Regions from separate parts of the Homo sapiens genome. Here region 1 is linked to region 2. The links are contacts of gene promoters, found by promoter capture Hi-C in human tissues and cell types (Jung and others, 2019). All regions are on one chromosome and are shown on one strand. Each heading gives the region's core, a stretch centred on a gene start or on the middle of the fragment in contact. The rest is flanking DNA. Distances are from core to core; before and after follow the strand shown.

Region 1 (6,947 bases), core at 3,474-5,973, 43 kb before region 2:
TGTTTCAGATTTCAGATGTTTTTGGATTTTGGAATATGCATATAATTACCTGCTGAGCACCCCAAATCCAATAATTCAAAAACTGAAATGCCCCAAATAGTACTTCTTTTAAGTGTCATGTAGGTACTCAAAAGGTTTTGAAATTTGAAGCATTTCATGTTTCAGATTTTTGAATTTAGGATGCTCAACCTGTACCTAAAAATCTTGGTGTTTCTGACAGAGTTCTAGTGTGGGATTTCTGGTTTTCATGGGCATTTCTTTTAGGGTATGGCATATTGTCTCATTAATACTTAATTTTAGACCTTAAATGTTACTTGCAGATTTTTACTTGCTAATCGTATCAACAAAATATCAAAGTGAAAGTAATCACTTCCTTATTCATTGTTTCTTTCAGATTCTGAAGCTTCAAGTCCTTTCACACCAGTGGCCGATGAGGACAGCGTAGTTTTCAGTAAACTGACTTACTTAGGCTGTGCCTCGGTAAATGCTCCCAGGAGTGAAGTGGAAGCCTTAAGGATGATGTCCATCTTAAGAAGCCAGTGTCAGATTTCACTAGATGTTACCCTTTCAGTGCCGAATGTGTCTGAAGGAATTGTGAGGTGAGACTGGTTTGTTGAAATCTTTCGATATTTACATCAGATCTCTGACCTGTTGCTTCAGAAAGAAGCAATAGTGAATAAAATACATATTAATAGTTATTTTACTTGTGTAACGTTTCATTTACCTGGCACTCATGTCTCCCAAGGACTGTGACCTTTGTGAAAAATGGTTACTTATTTGTAATAGTTTTTCGTACTCTTCCCGATCATGTGTAGTACATTAGGCATTTAATGTTTTGGGGATAAATGAAATATATTGACATGAGTCAGCCTAAAAGATTATATTTTCCATGTTCCTTTGATGAAAATACAAGCTTGACACATTATTTCAAAATGGAGTTTCATGTTGAGTTTGAAAGTTACAAAAATTTATTATTAAATATTAACTATACCAGCACACCCCTTAATTTTTATGATGAGAAAACTGGCTAGGTGCAGTGGTTCATGCCTGTAATCCCAGCATTTTGGGAGGCTGAGACGGGTTGATCACTTAAGTTCAGGGGTTCGAGACCAGCCTGGGCAGCCTGGGCAACATGGTGAAACCCTGTCTGTACAAAACATACAAAAATTAGCCACGCATGGTCATACACACCTATAGTCCCAGCTACTCAGGAGGCTGAAATGGGAGGATCACCTGAGCCTGGGAGTTCAAGGCTTCAGTGAGCTGTGATCATGCCACTTCACTCCAGACTGAGTGACAAAGTGAGACCCTGTCTCAACAAAGCAAAATGAAAAAAAAAGATGAGAAAACTGAGGCACAGAGAAGCCTCTAGCTGTTTATACTAATAGAACAAATAACAATTGCAGATAGCTAATCAGATGTCTGTATCAACCAGCTAAATATACTGTTGCTCAATAAGTCAGATGAATGCAGGTAAAATAAATTTTTTTTCCCTATTACCAAAGATACATGCTTATTTAAAAAAATTGCCACATAAAAATAGCCTTAATTCTACTCTACCACTAATAAATACAGTTAACATCTTGGCTTATTAAGATCTTCTTTGCATATTGGTATATGTATATGTCTAGGTATATGTAAATATACCTGCATATATATACATACATAATTTACAACTGTTAGAATCAACTTTTTTTTTTAACAGCAATGGACCTGTACATACCATCTTGTACTTAGTTTTATATCGTAAACCTCTTTTCATGCCAGTAAATATTATTAAAAATTTTAATTTATGATGGCATATGAATGGGTTATAAATAAATAACCCATCTCTTATATTAGACATTTTAAGGCTTTTATCTTTCAGAGAAAAAAGCATGAATGATGATAGCTAGTTTTAATTATATGGGAATATCAGTGTTTTATAAATAGGTATCTTTGAGCTCAATCTTTTTAGACTTCTGTTGATTTCCTTAGGATAAATTCCTAGAAGTAAACTTATTGAGTTTGTCTATTTTTATTGCTTCTAATAACATTGCCAACTAGCCATCTAGAAATATTGATCTAGTTTATACTTTTATCAGCAGTATATAGAATATCCATTTCTCAGTATCCTCAGAAGTATTTTGGACTTTCATGGTGACAGAGTAATAGCTGTGTGTTGATTGTAGTAAAATAATCTGTATATGTAATTTTTCCCCTTAAGTATTTAAATAACTATTTTGCAAAGACTCACAAATTCTATTTATTAATGATAAACTATTAATAAAATGTGTTTAGCACTCATTTCTATATGTTTCTTAGTCAATACTCATTCCTCTAACTGAAGTTAGACTTTAATATATTTTTAATTCTATAAAAGAAGTTAGAAAGCTAGTCGGTTTTACCCCACATTTTTAGAGTTTTCATAAAAGTGCTTTCAAACCTGTGTTAGATCCTCTTCCTAGGTATTTCCGTGATGAGCAAGGCCTTCTAGGCTTTCCCATTAATGGCTCTACCCACATAGTGTTGAAATTGCATAGTTTCTTTTTAGACCTTCCATAGTTGTGCCTTACTGCCCTGATCAGAGTCTGGAATGTTGTAGGTATCACATAAATATTTGTTGAATAAGTAGATTTTTGAATGAATGCTATCCCTTTGATTTTTTACTGAATGGCATCCTTTTGCTTTTATTCATGATTTTTTTTTTTTTGAGGAGTTAACATTTTGTATAATTTCTGTCCTTATTTTCCATGAATCAAAAAAAAACTTGTTTCAGTCTGAGAAAAAGCATCAGTTTTTTGTTTTTTATTTTTTCATAACAGATTAGGTCATTTTTAAAGGAGATAATTAGAAGCACAGCTTTGCCCAGGTGTGGTGGCTTATGCCTGTAATCCCAGCACTTTGGGAGGCCTAGGTGGGCGGATCACCTGAGGTCGGAAGATTGAGACCATTCTGGCTAACCTGCCCTGTCTCTACTAAAAATACAAAAAATTAGCCGGGCATGGTGGCACATCCCTGTAATCCCAGCTACTTGGGAGGCTGAGGCAGGAGAATCACTTGAACCCAGGAGGCGGAGGTTGCGGTGAGCTGAGATTGCGCCATTGCACTCCAGCCTGGGCAACAAGAGCGAAACTTGTCTCAAAAAAAAAAAAAAAAAAGCACAGCTTCAATGATGTATTTTGGTAGTCTAATTTACGTATTAATCGTCTTTATTTTGTAGCAGACTGTATAAGAAATGTGCTTATTGATATTGTTTATACCTTTCTGTTTGCCTCCCTAAAACATGATACTATATGGTTTTTAGTACTATGGAATTACGTAATCAATAGCTTCCGGAATTCACATATGAGTTACTTATTAAAATTTAAGGTTAATATCAGCATACCAAATATATGATCTTCTTACTAGAAAGAATGAGTCTCACATCTTAATCTAAACGTAGTGCAGATTGTTCATAATTCCTGTAATCTCTCTGTATCTTTTTCTCTGAACAGACTCTTAGATCCTCAGACAAACACTGAAATAGCAAACTACCCTATCTACAAAATCCTCTTCTGTGTCAGAGGGCATGATGGAACTCCTGAGAGTGACTGTTTTGCTTTCACTGAAAGTCATTACAATGCAGAGCTCTTCAGAATACACGTCTTCCGGTGTGAAATACAAGAAGCTGTAAGTCCTCAAGAGAAAACTCTCTGCAAATGAAACTTCACCAGTGCCCTCACTAGGTTGAAATGATTATGGTATTTATTATGATCACTCATAAGCCAGATGAAATTCTCTGCTATTGTTTTAGTGATTCTAGCCTCATGGGCCAAAATATAAATTAACTAAAAATTTGATTAACTAGAACTTTGTTACTACTACTAAGAATGTCAGAGGAGATCTGTTGGCTACTTTTGATTGGGTTAAGTAGGCATTCTGGTTCTAACATTGACAGATTTGCAAACCATTCTTTTAAATCAAAACTTGTTAGGACTGTTTTCATTGTAATATCTTCAGATAGTTTCTAACAATTTAGGAAGTGATTTTTAAATTGGATTTATAGTGCTTACAACCATTTCTTTTTTAAAACCCCTTGTCTGGACATTTTTAGTGTTGCTTGCTTTATAGGCCTAACAAATTAGGTAATTTACCAAAAGAAATAAGTGGGATAAAGATAATTATTGCCCTCCAAAGTAGGTAATCTTCCAGCCTTAATAAAGGTATTTTATATCTTTTGATAACAGCCCATTTCCTAACATGTCTGGTTGTAGGTAAGCCGGATACTTTACAGTTTTGCCACTGCCTTCCGCCGTTCTGCCAAGCAGACCCCACTTTCAGCCACTGCTGCACCCCAGACTCCTGACAGTGACATCTTTACCTTCTCTGTGTCTTTAGAAATAAAAGAAGATGATGGTAAAGGTTATTTTAGGTAGGGAATCTTATTTTATTCATGTATTAACATGCTGTGGTTCAGGGGAAATTCTAGGTCAGATTATAACTTTCATACCATAAAATGATGGCTTTTAAAGGGAGGGCTTTTAAAAAAAATCTGGATGATAAAGGCATATAAATACATAAATTTAACAGAGGCAAAGTTTGAAGAATTTTAAAGCAATTAAAAAAATTGTCATATTGGGAACATGTTGCTACCTTCTTTTAGTCAGATACCAAGTGGCTAACTGCTCACAAAAATATGGCCAAACCGCCAGGCGCTGTGGCTCACACCTGTAATCCCAGCTCTTTGGGTGGCTGAGGCGGACGGATCACCTGAGGTCGGGAGTTCGAGATGAGCCTGACCAACATGGAGAAACCTTGTCTCTACTAAAAATACAAAATTAGCCGGGCGTGGTGGTGGGTGCCTGTAATCCCAGCTACTTGGGAGGCTGAGGCAGGAGAATCGCTTGAACCCGGCAGGCAGAGGTTGCAGTGAGCCGAGATCCTGCCACTGCACTCCAGCCTGGGCAACGAGAACGAAACTCCGTCTCAAAAAAAAAAAAAAAAAAAAAAAAAAAATATATATATATATATATATATATATATATATATATATATGGCCAAAGCTTAGTCAGCTGGATTTGTAGCTATATTTGTTTTGCTGATTGTATTTGCTTGTTTTAGTTGGTTGATTTACTTATATTAATAATCTAAAAATCTTAAGCCTTTTCAAGTCAAGTTTTCCCAGTAAAGTTATCTGCATACATTGGAAGGGGAGAAATAAGGTCTGTGTCTGAAGTCTAATCTTTTGTAGGGTTAGAAGTGACTGATTTTAATTTTTAAATATAATGATAATCCTTTGAGTGGTGGAAAGAACCATGGAATAGAAGTCAAAACTTAGCTTTAGTTTAATTATTGTTACTATTAACAGTGTCCCCATTTCCAAGTTTCTTTACATCTGTCAGTAGTTTCCTCATTTATTAAATGAGGTGGCTAGACTCTAAAACCCTTTCTCACTTTAAAATTTTATGGTTGCAAGATGACTTGATGTTTTTAAAATTACAGCCCATGTCCCAAAATGATTGTATTATAATCAGTAATTGCATGTAGAAGTCTGTTTCCTCCATGACTACCTCATTAAATTGGTAAAATGAAGTTATATAAAAATATGAATATTTCTAATATTTTGCTTTTAAATTAAGCACAGTGATTGGTTTATTAGATTATTAGAAAAACTGATAATTTTTAGTCTTTCTTCAGACTTTGGAATTGTCATGCCATCTGGTGGCCAATTTAGTGTACAGTGCAGCTTAAACTTTGAGGAGTAAAGTATGACTCATTGTGCTCTATGCTTTCTAATTAGATAGATTTCTATTCTCTCTCTCTCTTTTTTTTTTTTTTTTGAGATACGCCTCACGCTGTTGCTCAGGCTTGAATGCAATGGTACAAACATGACTCACTGCAGCCTCAGCCTTCTGGTCTCAAGCAGTCCTCCCACCTCGCCCTCCTGAGTAGCTGGGACCACGGATGCATGCCACTATGTCTGGCTAATTTTTTTTTAAGTTTTTCTAGAGATGGGGTCTTGCCACATTGCCCAGGTTGGTCTTGAACTCGTGGTCTCAAGTGATAGTCTCAGCTTGTCAAAGTGTTGGGATTACAGGCATGAGCCAACCATTCCTGACTATTTCTATTCTCAAAGCAATGCTGTGAGGTAGTCCTTCCTGCAATGTACCTTCCTGCCCTGCAAAGTGAAAATTATAATCTGTATAATTTTAAGTAGTTTTTTACCTTGTTAAGCAACCTTTAAACTAAATATATTTTCTTTCTTTTTTTTTTGAGACAGAGCCTTGCTCTGTCACCAAGGCTGGAATGTAGTGGCACGATCACGGTTCACCGCAACCTCTGTCTCCCAGGTTCAAGCAATTCTCATGCCTCAGCCTCCTGAGTAGCTGGGATTACAAGCATCTGCCACCATACCGGGCTAATTTTTTCTATTTTTCAGTAGAGACAGGGTTTCGCCGTGTTGGCCAGGCTGGTCTCAAACTCCCGGCCTCAAGTGATCCATTTACCTGGGCCTCCCAGAGTGCTGGGATTATAGGCATGATTCACCATGCCTGGCCTTTTTTTCTTTATTGAAAATATTTATGTAGTTTTGGTCTGTAAATTCTAATTATTAAATAGGAAAGATTAAGATCCCTCAGAAGTATCAGTATAACTTCCCTTCCTTCTGAAATCAGGCATATTCAAGGTAGAATGATCATAAACATCTCTGTTCTATTTGTTAATACTGACAAAGTGCTATTACAGAAAATCCCTGGATGGTCAGATTTGCTTTTCACATTTGTTAGGACTTTGTTCTCCTTTTGCTACATGGCTTTGCTGAATTTCTGGTTTATAATAAATACTGTTATGTTAACTTAAATATATTATTTAAGTATAATGATCAATATACCTAAATATATTAGGTTAATATATATTATTTAGGTATAATAATAATTATATATTATACATATAAATTATGTAATAGTTATATACCTATTATTATATAA
Region 2 (6,668 bases), core at 3,485-5,984:
ACTAAGTGTAAATAACTTAATATTATATATATTTTTTGCTTATTATCTGTATTATCAGGCTTAGAAAGATCACTCTGTTACTTGGGCTAGCATGGAGTAAGAATAATTGCAGCGAGACCCGTTAATAATTCAGGCAAGAGATAATTTCAACTTGGATTGGGGTGTAGTGGCAAAGGGATGGGGAAAAAGATGCTATTTAAGAGGATTTCAGAGGTAGAGTCCTTGGCACTCACTTGATGACTGAATGAATGTGGGAGATGAGGGCGAGGGAGGAATAAAAGATGAGTCAAAGTATCTCAAATCATTTTTGGAATGACAGTTACATAAATAAACTCACATCAGCTGCACTAAAATAATATGTTAATTAATCAATGTTTAAAGCTCATTTTTTTTTTTTACTTAATAAAGTTTTATTTTTCCAAATGTAGAGTTGCTTGGACCTGTTCATGCATCTTCACCAGCAGCTGGAGCATCTCTGCCCTTGGTATTTCTGGTGTAAATTACTTGAGCTCTGTGCTTTGAAACCAGTTTGATAAGTCCTTTACTAAGGAGCTCCAGAAGGGCTGCCCTGGCCAGGGAACCTCAAATCTTCAGTCTCTTAGAGACCACAACTGGAGTTATAAGTTTATAGTTGGGAACTTCCTTACAGAGTTTGTCATATGTAGCTTTGTCAAACAAGACAAGGTATTGAGCTTGTCCCTAACTTTGCCTTTGGACCATTTCTTCTTTTTGGCCTTGCCCCCGGGTTTGTTCACTGGGTCTTTGTCTTTCTTGGCTGACTTTCCAGTGTCTGTCTTCTTCTTGTAGTCCTTGGGTGGCATCGTGAAGCTCGGAGAGCAGTGGCGAACACTGCAGCCTTGCTAAGATGTCAGACAAAAAGTGAAGCTCATTTTTACCAAATAATAAGTGGTAGTTGACACTAATGCCCAGAGGTGAAGCTTAGGAATTTGAAGAACTGAGATAATTTATCATCTACAAGTAGTTAAGTCTCTGAATAGGTTGGGAGAAAAAGAAATATAATTTGAACAGGTCTTTTCCTTTTTTTGTTACATTTCATTTCTCGTTCTGCTTTTCTTTTTAAGCCTGTCATTTTGTTATTTTAATTATTTTGGCTTTTAAAGTTGTTTTAATTTCATTAGGTTGAACCATATAGAAATTGGCGTGTTTGCAGGTCAGAAAGTATTTAGCTAGCAATGAAATGGTTAAGTATCGGTAAGTTCGTAATTATATTCTTGTTCTGTAAGAGGTTTTAACTGACATTTTGGGAGTCCATTTTGAGTTAGATTGAGTACCAAAGACTGTCTGAAGGAATGTTGCTCTGATGGCATAAGAACAAGTGGAACAGAGCCCCATGAAGTAGACAACTTCAACCCAGCATCATTCTATCTTGCTAAATCAATATGGTTCTGAGAGTATATAGAAATTGGAAAATTCAGAAAATATAGAAAGCTATAAAGAAGAAAGATTTTTTAATGAATGTTATCCCACCATCCAATAATAGTGTTGATTTTTAATGTATTTCCTTTTAGTCATATATATATAGAAAGTTACTCAGCCTTCAAAGTAAATATAGAGAGAATATATCATGAGACTGCATTATTTTATTTTTTATTGTATTTTTTAATCAGCATATAACATACATACTTATGAGGTATATAAGGATGTTTTGATACATATAGTATATACTGATCAGATCATGGTAATTGTGCACATACCCATCATCTCTAACATTTATCAACATTTATCATTTCTCTGTGTTGGGAACATTCAGTAACCTCCTTCTAGCTATTTGAAACTACATAGTATTAACTATAGTCTTCCTAGAGTGGTATGGAACACTAGAATGAGTCTATGTTATGGTTAAAGACCAAATGTACATGTGGATTTCTGTAAGGATACAAATTTATAGAGCCTCCCCAAGTTGTTAATAAATTGTGTCTTTTGAAGAAAATGTTTTTCTTTAATCCAAAGCAAAACATTTAATTCCTGATTGATTCAGTTAAATGTGGCTATTAGTCTTTTTTTTTTAAAGTTTCTTAAATGAATATTTTGATTTTAGCTCCTAGAGTGGTTTCACTAAAATAGAAACAAAGTTGAAAGAACTGTTACTGTACTAATGGCAGTAATGTAACAGCTTGTAGTTTTGTTGCAATTTTATAAATTTTGAATTCTTTCAAATTTTCAGCCATTGTATTGTCTGTTTTTATCAGCGTAACTGTCTTGTTTTATACATGGGAAACCACAGAGAGAATAAGTTTCATGCCCAAATTCACAAGTAGTAGTAGAAAAGCCTAGACTTTTGACTTTGGTGAACACTTTTTCTGTTTATTGAAATACAGCAGTAACTCTCAAAAATCACTCCTTTATTCCGTATTTATTAAGGTGCTCAGTAAATATGGTTTAAAAATAAAGTCTATGGCAAGTGTATAGAAGTAATCTGATTTGGCTGGAGGGCAGGTTATTTGGGGGAAGTAAAACAGTTGAGATCAGACTAGAAAGGCAGTAAAGGAGCCATTGACTCTTGAACAATGGGGTACAATAATAAAATGTACATTTTGGATATTTAACCAGACAGAAAAGAAAAAATTAGAAAAATGAACAAAACTGTAAGTTTAGGTGGTAATCATCTTCTATGGTAAGTGTATTAAAAATTGAAAGGAGGAAATGCATTTGAGAACTATTGTGGAAATACATTTTCAGGACTTGGTGACTCAGAACTAAGTGCTTTGAGGGAGAGAGTGGTCAAGGTGATTGATTCCTAAGTTTCATACCGGAGTGCCTGGGAAAATGTTGGAAAAATACAGAGGCTTATTTGGTGGGAAAAAGGTTTTTGATTTTAGACATGCTGTGGTTGAAATCTCTACAGGACATCTACAGGACATCTTCCATCTACTGGTGGAAAATGTGTGACTAGCAGGCAAATTGTAGATGGAAAAGGGAGCTTAGGAGTGAAGTCAGGGCTGGAGACCTAGGCAGAGAAATTATTTATGTTGAGGGAATAATTGACGCCATGTCATCATTCCTTCTTTTCAGCTACCTTCAGTGCTTTGTATATGCATAGCCTCAATGTATTTGAGTAATGTGTGACAGCACTGTATTCAGATAGCTGTTGTATGACCTAGAACTGTATAGCCTCAGTAAGAGCAGGCCCTTCAGGATTCAGAGGAGCCCAGCCTTAAGCATTTCAACATGATGGGCAGGAAAACACTGGCTCTTAAGGAAGGCTACTTTAGTTGTAGGAGCAGAAAGTGAGTAAAGTTATATACCCCCTCTGTGCTAGGTGTTGGTAAGCCTTTTTTATATACTTTATTTCTCAACAACCCTGTGAAGTAAGGAGTGTTGTTCTCATTTTACAGATGATGAAACAGAGGCTTAAGAGAGGATAAGTAATATTAGAGCAAGAATTTGAACCTGATTATTGTTCCTTCGATGCTATTGGTCTTTTTACTGTGCCACACACTTCGCTCTGTTTCCCAATAAGACCTGTCAAATATTACTATCAGGATTACGGTTAAATAGGTTTTTTATTTTGGGGCTATGGCCGCGTCTGGGACTGGCCAGACAACTGCTGCTGCTTCAGATTTAAAATGTAATTCATCGCATTCTGATTATGGGTGGCCATTTGTCTGTAATTAGAAAGCATGTGTATAAAATGAATAAAAATGAAAGTTGGATCACATGTTTTTACTCAGTTGCCTACCTCTTGGAATGCTTTCAAATGCCGGCATTTGTTTATTGTCTTTTATTCTGCTGGATACTTTCAATTAATCCTTCTAAATAAAGATACTAAAATTACACATTTTCATAGCACCCAACTCTGTTAGCTGAAAATTGTCATCATTTATGACATTACCAGGAAAACCACAATATAATATGATACAGTTTGCATTGTTTTAAATAGGCAGAAGCAAGATTGTATATTCTAAGATACAAAGGCTTATTTGTACCATGAAACTTCCTGTAATATCCATGCCTGAGTAGAAGAAGGTACATTTACTTTTCTATCTTCTGTTTGTATTCTTGTTTACTGCTCAGCAAATTAGAAGCAAGAAATGCATCTCAAAATTATAGCGTAGTGTCAAATATGGGAACAGTGTAATTTATCTGTGCTATTTGTGTAGTATTCAGAATGGGAGATACTTTATTTTTCTCTTGAAAAAGTGATCTTAAAGTTTCTTGGCCAATATTCAGTGAATCATGAGAGACAAAATTAATGGTGAATAGCCTTCTAGCTAGAACTTCTTGTGCAGCTGAATTATGATTCTCAGTTGCCATACGCCATACACTTAAAGGAAGTTAACATACTTCCTTTCTTTAATATTGCTCTTTGTTCTTTGGGAAAATGCCGTGAGAAAATAGAAATTACCCCTCTGGTAGTGTGTTTCAGTCTAATTCCTGACACCCTGTTCTGTTACTACCCCTTCTCCTTGCTAGCACCCTGAATTCTGCTTATCTACTAAAAGGGGGATTCCAGACAGACGAGGAAACAGCCTTCAAATGGTGCACTGCAGGCATAGCAAGCCATTCCCACACTGTGCAGTCTGGAAATCGGGGCACCTCTCTGACGATGAATTCCAATTAGTTGCTAAAGATGCCAGAGTGTGTGCACGTACAGGCTTTTTCTTTCCCCTCCCCCTTTCTTCCTTTTCCCAAGCCCCCTCTTCTCCCTGTTTCCCCTCCTACTCCTTTATCTCCTCCCTCCGTGTCTTAGTTCTGCAGTACGCGGGTTGAAGCACATTCCTGCTTTGCAAGGCTTTCTGCTAAGGATGTATTGTGGCTTTTGTTTGGATTGCAGCATGCAGAATTACAGGTAACATTCTGAAATTGAACTAAACAGTAAATTCTGTTGAAATGTTTTCAAAGAGGCAAAATATTATATTGGAATCAATGAAGAAAGTAAATTATCTTGGCTAATTTTATTAGTGGTAATTGTAGTGAAAGGTTTTCCTAAATATTATAAGCAAATTCCTTTTCTCCCCCGTCTCAAATGAAAGGAAATGGGGGTAAATTAATCTGACTGTGATTGGTTTTGTTTTATGCTGATCTTGAAAGCTTGATGTTGCTGCTGCTCCTCTATACAGTACAGATCAGTTGTGTGGGGTGCTATTGAGGGTAGCCGTGAATAGTGGTGCCAGTAGGGGTGGAGCGGGAGGGATGATGCCAGCCTGAGCTAGCCAGGTTCTTTGATTAGGGCATTGGATGTGAAATGTAAAATGCTCTCTCCTTTTCTTCTATCAGCTGTTCAGAGGAGACTCATTACAACTCCTGCTGAAGCTCCTAATCTTCTTCCCTTCTCTTCTACCCTTTCCCCCTACCCTCACTTGGCCTGAAGACGTTCTCCCCAGAGTTTACCTTGCTCCCCTGGTGCTATGTGTATGGTGAACCTGGCACTATGGCCGCGTCTGGGACTGGCCAGACAACTGCTGCTGGCTCTCCTTATTCCAGGAAGGATTTAAAGGGGAATTGCACTGCAGGCAATGCACCAGAGCAGCAGCATCAGGAGCTTGGGGAGTAAGGCTCCTCTGGCATTATTACACACATGCAAAGCTGACCGCAATGACAGCAGCTGCTTCTTTGAACTGTTGGCAGCAGCCAAGCGGCAGCATGAAGTGACAGATCACTCCTGAGCTCAAGATGAACTCCACCTTGGATGGTAATCAGAGCAGCCACCCTTTTTGCCTCTTGGCATTTGGCTATTTGGAAACTGTCAATTTTTGCCTTTTGGAAGTATTGATTATTGTCTTTCTAACTGTATTGATTATTTCTGGCAACATCATTGTGATTTTTGTATTTCACTGTGCACCTTTGTTGAACCATCACACTACAAGTTATTTTATCCAGACTATGGCATATGCTGACCTTTTTGTTGGGGTGAGCTGCGTGGTCCCTTCTTTATCACTCCTCCATCACCCCCTTCCAGTAGAGGAGTCCTTGACTTGCCAGATATTTGGTTTTGTAGTATCAGTTCTGAAGAGCGTCTCCATGGCTTCTCTGGCCTGTATCAGCATTGATAGATACATTGCCATTACTAAACCTTTAACCTATAATACTCTGGTTACACCCTGGAGACTACGCCTGTGTATTTTCCTGATTTGGCTATACTCGACCCTGGTCTTCCTGCCTTCCTTTTTCCACTGGGGCAAACCTGGATATCATGGAGATGTGTTTCAGTGGTGTGCGGAGTCCTGGCACACCGACTCCTACTTCACCCTGTTCATCGTGATGATGTTATATGCCCCAGCAGCCCTTATTGTCTGCTTCACCTATTTCAACATCTTCCGCATCTGCCAACAGCACACAAAGGATATCAGCGAAAGGCAAGCCCGCTTCAGCAGCCAGAGTGGGGAGACTGGGGAAGTGCAGGCCTGTCCTGATAAGCGCTATGCCATGGTCCTGTTTCGAATCACTAGTGTATTTTACATCCTCTGGTTGCCATATATCATCTACTTCTTGTTGGAAAGCTCCACTGGCCACAGCAACCGCTTCGCATCCTTCTTGACCACCTGGCTTGCTATTAGTAACAGTTTCTGCAACTGTGTAATTTATAGTCTCTCCAACAGTGTATTCCAAAGAGGACTAAAGCGCCTCTCAGGGGCTATGTGTACTTCTTGTGCAAGTCAGACTACAGCCAACGACCCTTACACAGTTAGAAGCAAAGGCCCTCTTAA

Evidence for each region. Contacts are between HindIII fragments. The study calls those that stand out against the background at their distance.
Region 1: a contact is called between a fragment that was not itself captured here and the fragment with the promoter of GPR21 in region 2, in 1 of the 25 tissues and cell types used here (aorta).

Annotation. Positions count from the first base shown.
Region 1 is chr9:122,985,821-122,992,767 of GRCh38, forward strand. It overlaps RABGAP1 (RAB GTPase activating protein 1), which reads left to right. Exons shown (of 26, transcript NM_012197.4): 4 at 395-599; 5 at 3,477-3,651; 6 at 4,236-4,393. Among named protein-coding and RNA genes, the nearest start is that of GPR21, 44 kb to the right of the region's middle. The HindIII fragment of the contact is 8,131 bases long and covers 659-6,947 here.
Region 2 is chr9:123,028,933-123,035,600 of GRCh38, forward strand. It overlaps GPR21 (G protein-coupled receptor 21), which reads left to right and starts at 4,735. Exons shown (of 2, transcript NM_005294.3): 1 at 4,735-4,810; 2 at 5,239-6,668. The coding sequence starts at 5,635. All of the region lies in intron 13 of RABGAP1 (RAB GTPase activating protein 1), which reads left to right. It also overlaps the pseudogene RPS25P8. The HindIII fragment of the contact is 5,815 bases long and covers 2,996-6,668 here.